2 separate regions of the Homo sapiens genome follow, and region 2 is linked to region 1. The links are contacts of gene promoters, found by promoter capture Hi-C in human tissues and cell types (Jung and others, 2019). All regions are on one chromosome and are shown on one strand. Each heading gives the region's core, a stretch centred on a gene start or on the middle of the fragment in contact. The rest is flanking DNA. Distances are from core to core; before and after follow the strand shown. Region 1 holds the start of NUDT18 (nudix hydrolase 18). Region 2 overlaps TNFRSF10A (TNF receptor superfamily member 10a).

Evidence for each region. The method cuts DNA at HindIII sites, captures the fragments that hold promoters and counts their contacts. A contact is called where the count stands out against the background at its distance.
Region 2: a contact is called between a fragment that was not itself captured here and the fragment with the promoter of NUDT18 in region 1, in 1 of the 25 tissues and cell types used here (spleen).

Annotation. Positions count from the first base shown.
Region 1 is chr8:22,108,142-22,110,858 of GRCh38, reverse strand. It overlaps NUDT18 (nudix hydrolase 18), which reads left to right and starts at 1,440. Exons shown (of 3, transcript NM_024815.4): 1 at 1,440-1,720; 2 at 2,513-2,717. The coding sequence starts at 1,559. RefSeq lists a silencer at 1,087-1,866 and an enhancer at 2,326-2,717. The HindIII fragment of the contact is 26,002 bases long and covers 1-2,717 here.
Region 2 is chr8:23,211,479-23,214,178 of GRCh38, reverse strand. TNFRSF10A (TNF receptor superfamily member 10a) reads left to right here. Exons shown (of 10, transcript NM_003844.4): 2 at 1,967-2,063. Among named protein-coding and RNA genes, the nearest start is that of TNFRSF10A, 12 kb to the left of the region's middle. The HindIII fragment of the contact is 6,641 bases long and covers 1-2,700 here.

The DNA.
Region 1 (2,717 bases), core at 191-2,690:
GATCAAGTCTGCAGTAGGAGCTGTGATCACGCCACTGCACCTCCAATCTGAGCAACACAGTGAAACCCTGACTCTAGGGGATAACAAAAGTCACATTTCATGAGGGCAGGCCTTGCGTGTGGTAGCAAGAGCTATGGTGGAGAGGGACCACCCCTGAGGGTTGGTGGGCTGCCTGGGGACGGTGCCCAGTGCTGGACAATCCACACAGCTCCTCTCCAATTGTTGTGGCTTCCCAACACCCCTGTAAAAGAAGAATTGCTATGATCCTGCTCTACAAATAAGAAAATTGAGGCCCACAGCTCACCCAGGAGCACAGAGCAAGCCAGTCAGCAGTGGCTGGCCATCTGGCTGCAGGTCCTGAGCTTTGTCCACACCACCAAGCCACAGTCTCCCTAGCAGGGAGGCGCACAAAACTATCAGAGGCAGAGGAAAGGGGTGGCCTCTGCCAGGTGAGGAGCCAGACGGCCTGCTTCGCAGATCCCTTCCAGCTGGCTTTGCCTTCCAGTGCTGAGGTGGGGTGAAGGAGGAAAGGCCGAGCTGGGAGAGGAGCAGGCGCTCGCCACAACCACCCCCACCCTGCTCTCCACGCGCCAGGTCCTGCACGCTGGGTGGGAGGGTGACGACAAGGATGGAGGAGCAGGGCCCCACCCCCGCCCTCCCAGGGCGCACCATCTGCAGCAGAGAGGGCCTTGAGCTGCGTGGGAAATGCGGTAGGCAGAGGGACACTGATGAGGGTGGGCCGGCTGACGGCAGCCTTCTCTCAGCCCCGGACCCCTCCCGCCATCCCCAGCCCTGCCCCCTCCCTCCTTCCAGCGCCTGTCACTCTTCCTGCCCAAACCAAGCATTTAGCACTTAGCCTCGAACCCTCAGCTGACTCCTCATCTAGGACTCCGTCCATCTCTCCAACTATTGCAGAATCTCCTTCAAGGCAGGGGTTTATGTCCCCCACCCCACGGGCCATGTGACATTTATAACTCTTTGGTGGAATGAGAAGAAAGGTATTTGGGATATGATCAACTCCGGCAATGCCATTGTGTGTTTACGGCAACAGCGGGACAGTGGTTCCAGGGGGCGGCCCCGGGCCTCCGTGACGTCACCGGATTGTCGCGTCACCGTCGCCTACCCCGGCGGCGCAACGCGCCCTGCAGGAAAGATGACGTCACCGTCGGAGCTCCTGCAGACCAGTGCGCGCTCGGGGAGTTGGCGAGCGGGTGGCGGCTGGGAGACGTCCCGAGCGCACGGGACTGACAGGCGGCAGAAGCCGGGCGGGGTCCGCTGGGCTCCGGACCCGTGCCCCCCCAGTTCCAGGGCGGCCCCGGGCGGCCCCGCCCCCTCGGTGAATGCCGCGGGCCGGCCAATCCGGGCAGGCCGCGGCGCCGCGCAGCCTATCAGCGGCCAGAGCTCGCGTGCGCTTCCGCGTTCGCGTGCGCTTCCGCGTTCTCGTGAGCTCCCGGCCCGCTGCCGCAGGGACTGGGAGCGGGCTCCGCAGCGCACTCTAGCCCGCGGCTCGGCTCAGTCGGTCTGCGAGGATCCGGCCCGCCGCCCCCCGGGGGACCCGATGGCCTCGGAGGGCCTGGCGGGGGCGCTGGCTTCCGTGCTGGCTGGCCAGGGGTCCAGCGTGCACAGCTGCGACTCGGCGCCGGCCGGGGAGCCGCCGGCGCCCGTGCGGCTGCGGAAGAACGTGTGCTACGTGGTGCTGGCCGTGTTCCTCAGCGAGCAGGTGAGCGGCCGCCCCCGGGCCCGCCGGGCCTCGGGAGCGCGCAGCCAGCCCAGGTGGGGACAGAAGACCCAACGGCCACAGCCAGCGCTGCCGCGTGCGTGGCGCTTCCCAGTTTTGCAAAGCACTCCCACTCCCACTCGCATCTGTGTCCTGCGTTCGTCCCGATATGCAGAAGAGGAAACTGAGGCCCGGGGCCTGTTTGTCTCATCCGACTAGGCCTCATTCCTTCCCTTCCCCAGAGTCTAGCGGAGTGCCCAGGGCCCCTCAGATAGCAGTGGCTCAATCCCGGCTTACCTTCAGGCCTTTGGTGCTGATGCCTGTAGTGGGCGATGTAATGACAACTAGACGGGGCCAGGGCCATAGGGCGGGGTTGTACAGAGCGGAGGTGGGGGTCGTGTTTCAAGCCAGACCCCAGTGTGAGGACCCATCACAGTTTGTAAACCACGCCGTTGGAGGCGAGAGATACACAGTGGCAGGTACAGACGCAAATCAATCCAAGACAGACAGACACATGGTGACCCTCACTCTGGGGCCTCATCTCCAGCCCCTGAAGCGGCTTCCAGGAATCTCAGCCCTTCCTGAAATGGAAGTCTTCCTAAATCCAGAGAGAGACGAATTGCAGAGAGGAGAGGGCTGCAGCCCCCAGCGACACGAGGGCAGGTCTCCTGGAGCGCTAGCTGGGTTGAGAGTGTCCACCCAGAGGGGAGTCTTGGGCGACTGTGTTTGAGATGCCCCCTGGTCCCGGGGCGAGGGAAGGCTGTGGCAGGAAGTGAGGATCCTCTCTCCTCTCAGGATGAGGTGCTACTGATCCAGGAGGCCAAGAGGGAGTGCCGGGGGTCGTGGTACCTGCCTGCGGGGAGAATGGAGCCAGGGGAGACCATCGTGGAGGCGCTGCAGCGGGAGGTGAAGGAGGAGGCGGGGCTGCACTGTGAGCCCGAGACACTGCTGTCCGTGGAGGAGCGGGGCCCCTCCTGGGTCCGCTTCGTGTTCCTCGCTC
Region 2 (2,700 bases), core at 84-2,583, 1.1 Mb before region 1:
GGGTAAAAAAATAAATGAAAAGGGAAATTAGAAAATGTCTTGGGAGGCTGAGCTCTGTAGCTCACGCCTATAATCCCAGCACTTTGGGAGGCCAAGGTGGGCAGATTGTGGGAGGCCCCACCCCCCTCAAAAAAGAAAGAAAATATCTTGAGACAGATGACAGGCACACTAAAATCTCAGAACTCACCACTAAAGAACTTATCCATGTAACAACAACAACAACAAAAAGCAGCTGTACCCTCAAACCTATGGAAATTAGAAAAATGTTTCAAAAGAAAATATCTTGAGACAAATGAAAACAATATACCATAAGTTACAGGATATGAAAGCAGTGTTATAATGGAAAATGATAGCTGTAAATGCTCACCACATTAAAAGAAGAAATAAATGAACAATCTACCTTTTACATAATGAAGTAGAAAATGAAGAGCAAACAGCTGGGCGTGGTGGCTCACGCTTGTAATCCCAACACTTTGGGAGGCCGAGGTGGACGGATCACGAGGTCAGGAGATAGAGACCATCCTAACACAGTGAAACTCTGTCTCTAATAAAAATACAAAAAACGTAGCTGGGCATGGTGGCGGGCGCCTGTAGTCCCAGCTACTCGGGAGGCTGAGGCAGGAGAATGGCATGAACCTGGGAAGCGGAGCTTGCAGTGAGCCAAGATCGCACCACTGCACTCCAGCCTGGGCAACAGAGCGAGACTCTGTCTCAAAAAAAAAAAAAAAAAAAAAAAAAAAAAGAGGAGCAAACTAAGCCCAAACCAGCAAAAAATAGATCAGAGATAACAGAAATAGAGAATAGAAAAACTGCAGAGAAACTCAAAGAAACTGAAAGTTGACCCTTAAGAGAGATCTATAAAATGTACAAACCTTTACTTAGATGGACTAAGAAAAAAGACAGAAAACTTAAATAACCAAAACCAGAAATGAAAGAGGGGACATTTAAAACAACTTTACAGAAATCCAAAGGATTATAAAAAATACTATAAATAATTGCATGTCAACAAACTAGAGCACATTGATAAAACTGGTAAATTACTAAAAACACACTACCTACCAATATTCAATCATGAAGAAATAGAGATTTTGAACAGAACTATAGTAAGGAGATAGAATCCATAATCCAAAACTTCCCAGCAAAGAAAAGCCCAGGACCAGTTGGCTTCAATGATGACGTCTACCAAACATTTAAAGAACTAACATGAATTCTCAAATTCTTCCAAGAAACTGAGTTGGAGGGAACACTTTCTAACTCTTCGTGTGGGCCCCGCATTACCCTGATAATATAGAAGTGATGAAAGGAGGCCTCCATGTCTTGTTCCTGATCTTGGAGAAAAAACCTTTAGTCTTTCACTATTGAGTAGGATGGTAGCTGTTGGCTTTTCATATGTGGCCTCCAAATGTAAGATCTATAAGAATTATACAACTCTTGTAAGAAAACAGCAATTTTACCTTGGGGTATATATCCAAAAGAATTGAAAGAAAGGGCATAAAGAGATTTTGTACACCCGTGTTCATAGCAGCTTTATTCACAATAGCTAAAATGTGAACACAAACCAAGTGCCCATTGACAGATGAATGGATAAACGTAATACATATACACACAATGGAAAGGAATGAAATTCCAATGCATGGTACCGAATGGATGGATCGTGATGATTTTATGCTAATTGAAATATGACAGCCTCAAGAAAACCATAAAATACTGTATGTCTCCATTTATATGAAGTATGTAGAGTAGTTAAATTCATAGAAACAGACAGTAGAATGGTAGTTGCCACAGGCTGGGGGCATGGGGACAAAGAGACAAAGATGAGCACAAACAAATGGTTGAGTTTTAGAACTGGGAGAAAGATGCAAGTTCTGTCTAATTTTGGAGGCTTGGGGGAATGGAATGTGAGATTGATCTTGTAATGGGTGAGATCTGGAAGCCACTCATGCCAGTCCCTGCTTTGTCCCCACAGGTCGTACCTAGCTCAGCTGCAACCATCAAACTTCATGATCAATCAATTGGCACACAGCAATGGGAACATAGCCCTTTGGGAGAGTTGTGTCCACCAGGTACATTCTAAGACTGATCTCTAATCCTTTACACCTCTCTTTTCCTTACCCTATACTATATACAAAAATTATCTCAAAATTCATCAATAACATTCCTTTTCCATGTTCTTCAAGTTTTCTGTTTCCTACAGTTTCTGGTTCTTCTATTCAACAGATACTTATTGATCCTTTGCCAAATCCAAGGTTATGAAGCTTTATCCCCATGTTTTCTCCTAAGAGTTTTGTACTTTAACTCTTGATGCATTTTCAGTTAATTTTTGTAAATGGCATCAGATAAGCGTCCAACTGCATTCTTTTGCATGTGGCTATCCAGTTGCCATTCGTTGAAATGATGATTTTTCCCATTAAATGGCCTTGGCATCCTTGTCAAAAACCAATTGACCATAAAGGTATGGGTGTATTTTTGGACTCTCAATTCTTTTCCATTGATCTATATCTGTCCTCTTTCCAGTGCCACACAGTCTTGTAGTGAGTTTTGACATCAGGAAGTATGAATCTTTCTTTTTTGTTTTCCTTTTCCAGAATTATTTTGTTTATGCTGGGCTTTTTGAAATTCCATATTAATTTTAGGATCAGCTTGCCAATTTCTAAAATCAGCTGAGTTTCTCACAGGGATTGTGTTGCACCTGTTGCTCAG